Linked DNA regions of Homo sapiens: region 2 is linked to region 1. The links are contacts of gene promoters, found by promoter capture Hi-C in blood cells and fetal thymus (Javierre and others, 2016). All regions are on one chromosome and are shown on one strand. Each heading gives the region's core, a stretch centred on a gene start or on the middle of the fragment in contact. The rest is flanking DNA. Distances are from core to core; before and after follow the strand shown.

The links. Contacts are between HindIII fragments. The CHiCAGO score rates a contact against its expected background, and 5 or more counts as called.
Region 2: a contact is called between a fragment that was not itself captured here and the fragment with the promoter of CRLF2 in region 1, in 1 of 17 cell types (monocytes). The highest score is 5.0, in monocytes.

Annotation. Positions count from the first base shown.
Region 1 is chrX:1,210,150-1,216,013 of GRCh38, forward strand. It overlaps CRLF2 (cytokine receptor like factor 2), which reads right to left and starts at 2,500. Exons shown (of 8, transcript NM_022148.4): 1 at 2,407-2,500. The coding sequence starts at 2,485. The HindIII fragment of the contact is 4,372 bases long and covers 245-4,616 here.
Region 2 is chrX:1,592,676-1,598,715 of GRCh38, forward strand. AKAP17A (A-kinase anchoring protein 17A) reads left to right here. Exons shown (of 5, transcript NM_005088.3): 2 at 769-1,549; 3 at 2,709-2,857. The coding sequence starts at 788. Among named protein-coding and RNA genes, the nearest start is that of AKAP17A, 4.1 kb to the left of the region's middle. The HindIII fragment of the contact is 2,741 bases long and covers 35-2,775 here.

The DNA of each region.
Region 1 (5,864 bases), core at 1,250-3,749:
TGGGCCAACCGTAAAGAAGACTTTCTACGTTTGCTAGGAAGGTTGCATAGACTTCAGTAGGTTTGATGTTTCAAGAGGTCTGGGTTTGTAATTCCGAACAGGGACAATGGAAATATTTTAGAATTGAGCAAACATGTAATGATATTTTGCATAATGAAAGCCAAGTCTCTTTTTTTTATTTTGAGACAGAGTCTCGCTCTGTCGCCCACGCTGGAGTGCAGTGGTGCGATCCCGGCTCACTGCAAGCTTTGCCTCCCGGGTTCATGCCATTCTCCTGCCTCAGCCTCCCAAGTAGCTGGGACTACAGGCACCTGCCACCATGCCCGGCTGATTTTTTGTATTAGTACAGACGGGGTTTCACCGTGTTAGCCAGGATGGTCTCCATCTCCTGACCTTGTGATCCGCCCACCTCGGCCTCCCAAAGTGCTGGGATTACAGGCATGAGCCACAGCGCCCGGCCAAGTCTCTCACTGTCAAAGAAGTCAGTTACAGGTTTGGAAAGATGGGGTACAGTGAACCTTGTCATGTTGGGTTCTAAGTGGAGGTATCTGGAGGATAGATAGATACAGATAGATAGATAAATGGTAATGTTAGATAGATAGAATTATATAGATGATGATAGAAATAGTTAGACAGACAGACACAGATAGATAGGGATGGGTAGGTAGATGGATGAATCAATGGACAGGTGGGTGTATAGGTGGAAGACAAGTGGATGGGTGGGTGGATGGGTGAGTGGATGGATGAATAAATGGATGAACAGATACACAGGTGAATGGGTGGATGGGTGGATGGATGCATGGATAGATGGATACATAGATGTGTACATGGATGGGTGGATGGATGGATGGATGAGTGGATGAAAGTGTGGGTGAATGCATAGGTGGATGGATGGTTTGATGGGTGGGTGGATGGATGTGTTGGTGGATGGATGGATAGATGGATAAGTGGATGAAAGGATGGGTGGGTGGATGAGTGAGTCAGTGGATAAATAAATGGATGAACAGATACATAGGTGAATGGATGGATGGATGGATGGATGGATGGATGCATGGATAGATGGATACGTAGATGTGTACATGGATGGGTGGGTGGGTGGATGGATGGGTGGATGGATGGATGGATGGATGGATGGATGGATAAGTGGATAAAAGTGTGGGTGAATGCATGGATAGATGGATGTATTGGTGGGTGGATGGGTGGATGGGTGGATGGATGGATGGATGGATGGATGGATGGATGGATGGATGGATAAGTGGATAAAAGTGTGGGTGAATGCATGGATAGATGGATGTATTGGTGGATGGATGGGTGGATGGGTGGATGGATGGATGGATGGATGGATAAGTGGATAAAAGTGTGGGTGAATGCATGGATAGATGGATGTATTGGTGGATGGATGGGTGGATGGATGGATGGATGGATAAGTGGATAAAAGTGTGGGTGAATGCATGGATAGATGGATGTATTGGTGGATGGATGGGTGGATGGATGGATGGATGGATAAGTGGATAAAAGTGTGGGTGAATGCATGGATGGATGGATGTATTGGTGGATGGATGGGTGGATGGGTGGATGGATGGATGGATGGATGGATAAGTGGATAAAAGTGTGGGTGAATGCATGGATAGATGGATGTATTGGTGGATGGATGGGTGGATGGATGGATGGATGGATAAGTGGATAAAAGTGTGGGTGAATGCATGGATGGATGGATGTATTGGTAGATGGATGGGTGGATGGGTGGATGGATGGATGGATGTATTGGTGGATGGATGGGTGGATGGGTGGATGGATGGATGGATGGATGATAGATGGGTGGATGGGAGGATGGATAGATAACAGCTGGGTGGATGGTGGATGGATGGATGAGTGAATGAAAGGTTGGGTGGACGGATGGCTGGGTGGGTTGATGGGTGGGTGAATGTATGAGTGGATGAATCGTTTGATAGATGGGTGGATGGATATATTAGTGGATGGATCAATGAATAATAGATGGATGGATAGTGGATGGATGGGTGATTAATGGGAAAAGATAGATGAGATACATTGATGGATAGATTAAAAATGAATATATCTACCAATCAATCAATCAATAGATAGACACACACACGCACACATACAGTTCCTAGTTCTGGCCACCGAAAGCTCATATAAGCAGTGGATATTCCGGGAGCAATAAGTATACTTAATATTCATGTATTTACTTATAAATATGTTTTGTCCCAGCTACTTGAGAAGCTGAGGCAGGAGAATTGCTTGAACCCGGAAAAAAAAAAAAAAAAAAAAGAAAAGAAGAAAGAAACCTCCATGCTCATTGTTTAAGTTTTACAAAATAAAGAGTGCCTGGTTGCAAAGCAAACCACAAACCAAAATACAACAAGAAGAGGGTGTTTAAATAATTACCTGCTCCTCCTTGCCCCAAAGCCATCCAGCCTCCCAGCAGAAAGACGGCAGCTCCCCACAGCAGAACCAGCCGCCCCATGCCTGAAACAGGAGTGGAGAGTGAGGTCCTCAGGGACCTACAACGAACAGATCACTCATGACTCATAAGCAGAGGTCACCATCGATTTTAAAAAGTCAGAAAGGAAACTAGGGAAATGATTACAGGCAGGAAGCACAGTGACAGTTGATTTTCAAAGATACACTTGTCAAGAACACACACACACACACACACACACACACACACAATCAATCCAGGATCAGGACTGCCACGCACACTGCTGAGCTGAGCCCTCCCCTTCCCTCCCCCTCCCCCATCTCCTCCCCCTCCCCTCCATTCCCTTCCCTCCCTCCCCCTCCCCTCCCCTCCCCTCCATTCCCTCCCCACTCCCCTCCCCTCCCCCTTCCCCTCCCCTCTCTTTCCTTCCTTTCCCTTCCCCTCCCCTCCCCTCTCCCCTCCCCTTCCCCCTCTCCCCTCCCCTTCCCCCTCCCCTCCCCTCCCTTCCCTTCCTTTCACTTCCCCTCCCCCTCCCCTCTCCCCTCCCCTCCATCCCCTCCCCTCCCCTCCCTTCCCTTCTGCCTCTCCCCCACCCCCTCCTCCCTCCCCTCCCCCTCCCCCTTCCCTTTCCTCCCCTCCCCTCCTCCTCCCCACCTCCCCTCCCCCTCCCCTCCCCCTTCCCTCCCCTCCCCCTTCCCTCCCCTCCCTTCCCTTCCTTTCCCTTCCCCTCCCTTCCCCTTCCCCCCCACCCCACCCCCTCCCTTCCCATCCCCCTCCCATCCCCTCATCTTTTGTCCCCCTCCCTTCCCCCACCCCCTCCACCTATCCCCTCCCCTCCCCTCCATGGATGGTATATGGATGGATGGATAAGTGGATGAAAGGATGTGTGGATAGGTGGGTGGATGGATGGATAAATGGATGAACAGATACATAGGTGGATGGGTGGATGGATGCATGCATAGATGGATACGTAGATGTGTACATCCCCTCCCCTCCCTTCCCCTCCCCCCTCCCCCCACCCCCTCCTCCCTCCCCTCTCCCTCCCCCTTCCGTCTCCTCCCCTCCCCCTCCCCTCTCCTCCCCTCCCCCTCCCCACCTCCCCTTCCTTTCTCTTGCTTTTCCTTTCTTTTTTTTTGAGCTGGAGTCTCACTCTCTGTCACCCAGGCTGGAGTGCAGTGGCACGATCTTGGCTCACTGCAACCTCCTCCTCCCGGGTTCAAGCGATTCTCCTGCCTCAGCCTCCTGAGTAGCTGGGATTACAGGCGCCCACCACCACGCCTGGCTAATTTTTATATTTTTAGTAGAGATGGGGTTTCACCATGTTGGCCAGGCTGGTCTCAAACTCCTGACTTCAAGTGATCGGCCCGCTTCAGCCTCTCAAAGTGCTGGGATTATAGGCGTGAGCCACCGTGCCCAGCTTTTCTTTCCTATTCTTTGAGACAAGGTGTTCGTCTGGTACCCACGCAGGAGTGTTGTGGTGCAATCAGGACTCACCACAGCCTCAAACAGCTTGGCTCAAGCAATCCTCTTGCCTCAACCTCCCTAGTAGCCGGGATTACAGATGCATGCCACCCACCCTGCTGATTTTTGTATTTTTCATAGAGACGGGGTTTCACCATGTTGACCAGGCTGGTCTCAAACTCCTGGACTCAGGTGATCCACCCGCCTCGACCTCCCAAAGTGCTGGGATTATAGGCGTTAGCCACCGCACCTGGCCTGAGCTTTGCTTGAAAGCATATCACAGAGCAGCCTGGCCAACATGGCGAAACCCTGTCTCTACTAAAAAAAAAAATACAAAAATTAGCCAGGCGTGGTGGCACGCACCTGTAATCCCAGCTACTCAGGAGGCTGAGACGGGGAGAATCGCTTGAACCCAGGAGGCAGAGGTTGCAGCGAGCCAAGGTCACACCATTGCACTCCAGCCTTGTTGACAGAGCGAGACTCTGTCTCAAAAAAAAAAAAAAAATATGACATGCTAACTTTCTAAGCCCGGAATTCTTGCTCTCTGCTAAATGATGAGACTCGTGGATGAGTGTGCAGTTGTGTGGTCAGTGTTCTGTGATATACTCTGCACCCAAGCTGGGCTGGACATCCAGAGACTTCATAGTTCATCTGTCTTCAGACAAACGCAGAGTTCACCTTTGCCGCTGACCAGCTTCCCAGACCAAGGGACTCAAGCTTGTAGGCATTCTCCTCGTAACACCACAAACACTGTGATGGTAGCATATGCTGGGTAGATGGGGCCCCAGTTTAAGACTGTAGAGGACCGGGCACGGTGGCTCACGCCTGTCATCCCAGCACTCTGGGAGGCCGAGGCCGGAGGATCCCCTGAGGTCAGGAGTTCGAGACCAGCCTGGCCAACACGGTGAAACCCCGTCTCTGCTAAAAATACAAAAATTAGCCGGGCGTGGTGGTGGGTGCCTGTTATCCCAACTACTCAGGAAGCTGAGGCAGGAGAATGGCGTGAACCCGGGAGGCGGAGTTGGCAGTGAGCTGAGATCGTGCCACGGCACTCCAGCCTGGGCGACAAGAGCAAGACTCCGTCTCAAAATATATAAATAAATAAATAAGTGAATAAATAAAAGTCTGGAGAGAGCTGGTTGGAACAGACATGTCATCTTAAAAGATCTCGGCTCATGCCTGGAGATTCCTTGCGGTCAAAACACAAGTGTGCCAGGCAGAGCAGGTGATTCCTGTTGGTTGCCACCACTCCTTCGTACAAGCAAAGCAGAAGTGATTGTGGGAACTGTTTAGAGATGCGGTTTGGGGACTTTCAGAGCACAAATGCAGGATCTTTCTCCAGTACGTGACGGAAGAATTTTAGGTGTTCTTTTGCTTGACAGCAGGAAGATTGGATTAACCGTGAGTGACCAGTTTGAGACCACTAACATTTGTTTTATGTTTTTTTGAGGTGGAGAGTCTCCCTCTGTCACCCAGGCTGGAGTGCAATGGTGCAATCTCAGCTCACTGCAACTTCTGCCTCTTGGGTTCAAGCAACAGGCACCTGCCACCACACCTGGCTGATTTTTTGTTTTTCTGTTTTTGAGGGGTTATTTTTTGAGACGGAGTTTCTCTTGCTGCCCAGGCTGGAGTGCAATGGTGCAATCTCAGCTCACTGCAACTTCTGCCTCTCTGGTTCAAGCAGTTCTCCTGCCTCAGCCTGCCGAGTAGCTGGGATTACAGGCACCTGCCACCACACCTGGCTCCTTTTTTGTTTTTCTGTTTTTTTGTTTTTTGTTTTTTTGAGACGGAGTCTTGCTCTGTCGCCCAGGCTGGAGTGCAGTGGTGTGATCTCTGCTCACTGCAAGCTCCACCTTCAGGGTTCACGCCATTCTCCTGCCTCAGCCTCCCGAGTAGCTGGGACTACGGGTGCCCACCACCACGCCCGGCTTATTTTTGTATTTTCAGTAGAGACAGGGTTTCA
Region 2 (6,040 bases), core at 155-2,654, 380 kb after region 1:
CGGTCACCTGAGATGGTTGGGTTTCTGCGAGTGAAGCTTCCTCTACTTGGACTTGGCCGTCAGGAAGTGGCTGCCCGTCAGCTCAGCAGGGAAGAGGTGGGTTAATGAAGGTGGGCGGAGAAAGAAGGCGCAGACGGGGGACTCCGGCCCCTAACTTGTGGAAAGTTCGTTGTACTTTTTGGCTTTGAGTGGGTTAAAGCTGGGATACGTTTGGCCTTCGTGGAGATTACTAGGGTTCATGGTTCTGGATTGTTGTTGCAGCCCGAGACTTCCTGTTTTATCAGGGCAAGTACAGGGCCGCCGCCCCCTCCACAAAACCTTTCCAGATGCCTGCAGCTGTGCTCTCCCTGGCCCCTTCCCTTCCCCAGTGTCTCTCTGCCCCTTCCCGTGGAGCTAGGCGTTTGTAGCGTCCCCGTTCCTACTTGACCTGTGTGAGGGGCCTGGTCGTGCTCAGCTTCCTATTCTGCAGGCCTTGGGAGCTGCTGGCTGCTGGATGTAGGGTGTCGGGCAGTGCTGACCGAGGCTTTGACACTAACCTGTTCTTTATCAGCTCGGCTCTTTCCCCTTTGGTGTACTCTTAATGATTTCAAAAAGTAAAGAACTCCGTTGAGATGGCTGTTAACAAAGTGGAAACCGGTCTCTGACACGGCAGAGAGACACTGCTGTTTCTCTTCTCCGGGTCCAGAAAGTGCCTGCTGGCTTGGCCCCTCCTCATTGGCGGGGGAGGTGGGGGGTGCTGGTGCTGACTGTCTGCGTCTTATGTTTCAGGCCCAAGGTCCCGGAGGCTATGGCAGCGGCTACCATCGTGCACGACACGTCTGAGGCCGTGGAGCTCTGCCCTGCTTACGGCTTGTACCTGAAGCCCATCACCAAGATGACCATCAGCGTGGCACTCCCGCAGCTGAAGCAGCCGGGGAAGTCCATCTCCAACTGGGAGGTGATGGAGAGGCTGAAGGGCATGGTGCAGAACCACCAGTTCTCCACGCTGCGTATTTCCAAGAGCACCATGGACTTCATCCGCTTCGAGGGGGAGGTGGAGAACAAGAGCCTGGTCAAGTCTTTTCTGGCCTGCCTGGACGGCAAGACCATCAAGCTCAGCGGCTTCTCCGACATCCTGAAGGTGCGCGCGGCCGAGTTCAAGATCGACTTCCCCACCCGCCACGACTGGGACTCCTTCTTCCGCGACGCCAAGGACATGAACGAGACCCTGCCGGGGGAGCGGCCGGACACCATCCACCTGGAGGGGCTGCCCTGCAAGTGGTTCGCCCTGAAGGAGTCGGGCTCCGAGAAGCCCAGCGAGGACGTCCTGGTCAAGGTGTTTGAGAAGTTCGGGGAGATCCGGAATGTGGACATCCCCATGCTGGACCCCTACCGGGAGGAGATGACGGGCCGCAACTTCCACACCTTCAGTTTCGGGGGGCACTTGAACTTCGAGGCCTATGTGCAGTACCGCGAGTACATGGGCTTCATCCAGGCCATGAGCGCCCTGCGCGGGATGAAACTCATGTACAAGGGCGAGGACGGCAAGGCCGTGGCCTGCAACATCAAGGTGAGTCCTGGGCACCGAGAGAGCCACGCGCTTCCTCCCTCTGGCGACTTCCTTCCAGCAGGGTCAGCAGAACGCTCCCAGCCACACCCCTGAGGCTGTGGGGACCTCCCCTAAGTAAAATGGCAGCAACAGTCCTGTGCCTGTCCAATTTCAGAGGCACAGGCGTGAGGTGGAGTAGGGGTCCCGTGCTGTGGTTTTGGAAATTTGGTATCTTAAGGAAGATGTGGGGGAGACACAGGTCATATAGTAGGTGAGGGATGGAGCCTCAGGAACTCTGACAGGGATTTGAACCGTGTCAGAACCAAGAGAACCCGGCCTTCCCAGAATGCACCTTGAAACCAGGGCTGAACGTTCCCTTTAGCCTCATGTGCTTTTTTATTTTTTTTATTTTTTTTATTTTTATTTTTTTTTCGAGGCAGAGTCTCGATCTGTTTCCTGGACTGGAGTGCAGTGGCGCAATCTTTGCTCAGTGCATCCTCCGCCTCCTGGGTTCGAGCGATTCTTCTGCCTCAGCCTCCCGAGTAGCTGGGACTACAGGCGCGTGCCATCACACCTGGCTAATTTTTGTATTTTTAGTAGAAACAGGGTTTTGCCGTATTGGCCAGGCTGGTCTCGAACTCCTGACCTCATGAACTGCCTGCCTCGCCCTCCCAAAGTGCTGGGATTACAGGCGTGAGCCACTGCGCTCAGCCTAGCCTCGTGTTTTGACCGTGTTGGCTTCACAGTGACAAATGAGCCAGCCTCCTGGAGGGGGTTTTGTGGCCTTAAGATGTGCCCTGTGGGTGTGGGCAGGCGGCCTGCTCAGTGACTGTGGCCACAGGGAATGGTGGAGCCGGGTAGCGGAAGGGGAGCTGTGTCTCGCAGCGGTGGCGTGTCACTTGTGTTCAGTAAGTGGCGAGGGCTAGTTGGTGTTCCTCGCTGAGTCGTAACTCCGTGGGATGAGCTAAGTCTTGAGCCACTGATGGTGACTTGAAGGGATTGGTTTGGCTTCTGGGCTCCACTGTCTGGGTCTGCACCGGACATGAGTGGTGAGCGGTGAGCGGTGAGCGGGCGCTCAGGCTCTGAGGCCACTCGGCCCTACGGCCCAGGAGAGGGCGCCTGGCCGTGTGTCTGGGGGGTTTTGGGGGAAGGCCATCTGACACTGTTTTTGCTTTTAAAGGTTTCTTTTGATTCGACCAAACACCTGAGTGATGCCTCAATTAAGAAGCGGCAGCTGGAGAGGCAGAAGCTTCAGGAACTGGAGCAGCAAAGAGAAGAACAAAAGCGCAGAGAGAAGGAAGCGGAGGAGAGGCAGCGAGCGGAGGAAAGGTACCTTCTGCGGGAGCGGGCCCTCGGCGCTGGTGTCCGGCACCTGGGAGTGTGCGCAGACCCGTGTGCGTGTGTCTGCATGTATTCCTGTGCGTGTGTGTGTGCATGCATGCTTGTGAGCTTGTGTGTGTACCTGTGTGCATGGACGCACGTGTGCCTGTGAACCGGTGTGTGTACTTTGTATGTCCCTATGTGCGCCCGAGTGTGTGCCTGAGCATCTGTGTGCACGTGTGCCTGTGTGTGCGTGCATGTGTGTGAGCTCGTGTGTGTACCTGTGTGTGTATGTGCACGTGTGCCCACATGTGTGTGCTTCTGTATCGGCACATAGCACACATGTGCCTGTGTGCATGCGTGTGTGCCTGTGAACCCGTGTGTGTACTTGTGTGTGCACGTATGGGTGTGTGTGCAGGCCTGTGGGTGCTCAGCTGTGCACGTGAGGACCTGCGTGAGTGGCTGTTTGAGACGCAGCAGAATATGAATGTTTCTCTTTTTCTTGTCACACGTCGTGGTCTGACACGATCTCTGCCGGCTCCCAGGACCGCGCCTTGCCCGAAGAGCCACCTCTTCTCCCTCCACATGCTGTTCACACCTCCCGCTGAAACAAGCAGAATGCCTTGGCTGTTTGCAAGTTTGCATTTAGGTTGAGGCTACATTTACAAAATGAAGTAGAGGGTTGATGGTGATGGCCAGATTTAAAAAAAAAAAAAAAAACAAAAAACCAATGATAGGACAAAAACCCGGTTTCACATAAGAGGCCTTTAAAGCAATTGCCTGGGTCGTTCACTGTGGTTGGGGTACCAGAGACAACCTCAGGTCACTCTTTGTAGCCCCTTTTATCTTCTTAGCATTGCAGGAGGGAACCAACAACTTTCTGTGAATCCCCTGAGGCGGAATCCTCCTCCTCCTCCTCCTCCTCCATCCCTCCCACCCTCCTAGTGAGGTGGATTCCTCCTCCTCCTCCTCCATCCCTCCCACCCTCCTAGTGAGGCGGAATCCTCCTCTTCCTCCTCCATCCCTCCCACCCTCCTAGTGAGGTGGATTCCTCCTCCTCCTCCTCCATCCCTCCCACCCTCCTAGTGAGGTGGATTCCTCCTCCTCCTCCTCCATCCCTCCCACCCTCCTAGTGAGGTGGATTCCTCCTCCTCCTCCTCCATCCCTCCCACCCTCCTAGTGAGGTGGATTCCTCCTCCTCCTTCTCCGTCCCTCCCACCCTCCTAGTGAGGTGGATTCCTCCTCCTCCTCCTCTTCCTCCTCCATCCCTCCCGCTGTGCCCTCCTAGTGAGGCGGATTCGTCCTCTTCCTCCTCCATCCCTCCTGCCGTGTCCTCCTAGTGAGGTGGATTCCTCCTCCTCCTTCTCCGTCCCTCCCACCCTCCTAGTGAGGCGGAATCCTCCTCCTCCTACTCCTCTTCGTCCTCCGTCCCTCCCGCTGTGTCCTCTGACGACTTTGGTGCGTCCTGCACGTCTGTTGCGCTTCATGTCGCCGATATCAAGTCTGGGACGTGTTGGACTTGGCTGGGGGGCTCCTGGACAGCCTCTGGTGGGACCGAGTTGGTCCGTTTTGTTTCCATTTCTCACTGCTTTATGTGACGCTGGTGCCAGCGTGTTGATGTGTGTGGCTGGTGATGTTTGCACGAGAGTCCCGGCACTGAACTCCTGGGAGCAGGTCCATCCTGCCCGTGGTGTTCTTTACGTAGCCCCCGTTGCCTCCCCAGGGGAGAGTCGGGTTGTCAGCCTCTGAATCTGAACCCCGAGGGCTCCTTAGGTGAGGCAGGTGCAGTGTGTAAGCGAGTGGCCGTGAATGTGCTGGGGGGGCCCATGTCAGCCGTCAGGATTCCCAGGACCTAAGGCAGGCAGCACAGAGAGGCAGACGCCCTGGGAGGGAGGGACATGCTGCTGCGTCGCCATCCTGGGAGGCGGTCCCTGGGAGGGGCGGTTCGGATGTGGGGTTGAGTCCGGGTCCCCTGTGTCAGCCACTGTCAGGCCGAGCAGGACAGCTGGGGTGGGAGACAGTCCTGGGGCGTTACAGGGACTCTTCCAGGCTGCAGACACAGCCCAGGCCTGGCTGAATGTGCCTGTCCACATTCTGGAAGTGTGGAGTGGGACTCAGAGCCTCGGACCTCTCGGTGTCGCAGGAGTGTCCCCGCAACATTTCAGAAAGCAGCTTGCGGGTGCGGAGAAGAAGCTGCATCCTTGATCTTTCCCTGAGGAGAGATGGACGTTGGAGTAGTGGAGTGTGTCTCTGCAGGGAAGGGACCCCGTCTGCCTGGCCAGACCACAGAGGGATTGGGGGAAGCGGGGCCGGGCCATGAGGTTCTCGAGAGCAGGATGGGGTGTCCAGAGCCCCGGGGAGGGGCAGGCCTGTTGTCTGGGGGAGCTGGCCAGGAGGGCTCCACACGCAGGGCCGTACTTGTCCCCGCTGTCCCCCACTGTCCTTCCTCAGAGGCTGAGCATGAGGGGAGGCCCAGGGCAGCCTCCTGCATTTCTTTCTGGTGGGTGGAGATGAGGCATGTTTGCTTGTTCAGCCCTCACGTGTAACTTTGAGCTTGATGAGAGCTGTCCTCTGAAAGCTGCCCAGCCTCGAGGCGTCGCTGTGGGTCCCGCCTAAGGGCGTGCTGTGTGCTGGGCTGCCCTGAGCCGCCCTCCGAGCTCGTGGGGCGGTGACAGCTCACAGGGCGGTTAAACCTTCAGCACATGAAACTGCCTGAGGACCTGCATGCCCCGCCCGGAGACCGTGTGGATCACTGTCTGGGCGTCGGCACCTGGCCCGGCCCCCTTCTTGGGGTGGCAGAGCGTGGGATGCCTTTTCTCCCGGCCTGCTCCTCCTTGTCCCCGTGTCTCCTCTCCCCTTGGTGTCTGCGTGGGTCTGTGTCACCCCGGCGGGCTTTGTGGCCTCACTAGGCGGTTGGCGGCGCCCACCCGGGCTTCAGAAGTCTCCGCCTCCGTGTCGTGTTCCATAGGAACAGCTGCGACTTGTTCCCATGTCCGGTGTTGGTTGAAATGCATTTGAGAGCTGCGGGGCGGGGGAGGCTGAGCTAGGGAACTCCCCACTGTCTCTTGTGGACTCTCTCTGGGGACCGCGCCCCTCCCCGGCCGCATTCATCCTCACTTCCTGGACACCCCTCTCCACAGGAAAAGTGCAAGGAGCTGAGTGGCGTGGCTGTGGTTGGATTTGTTTAGAGAG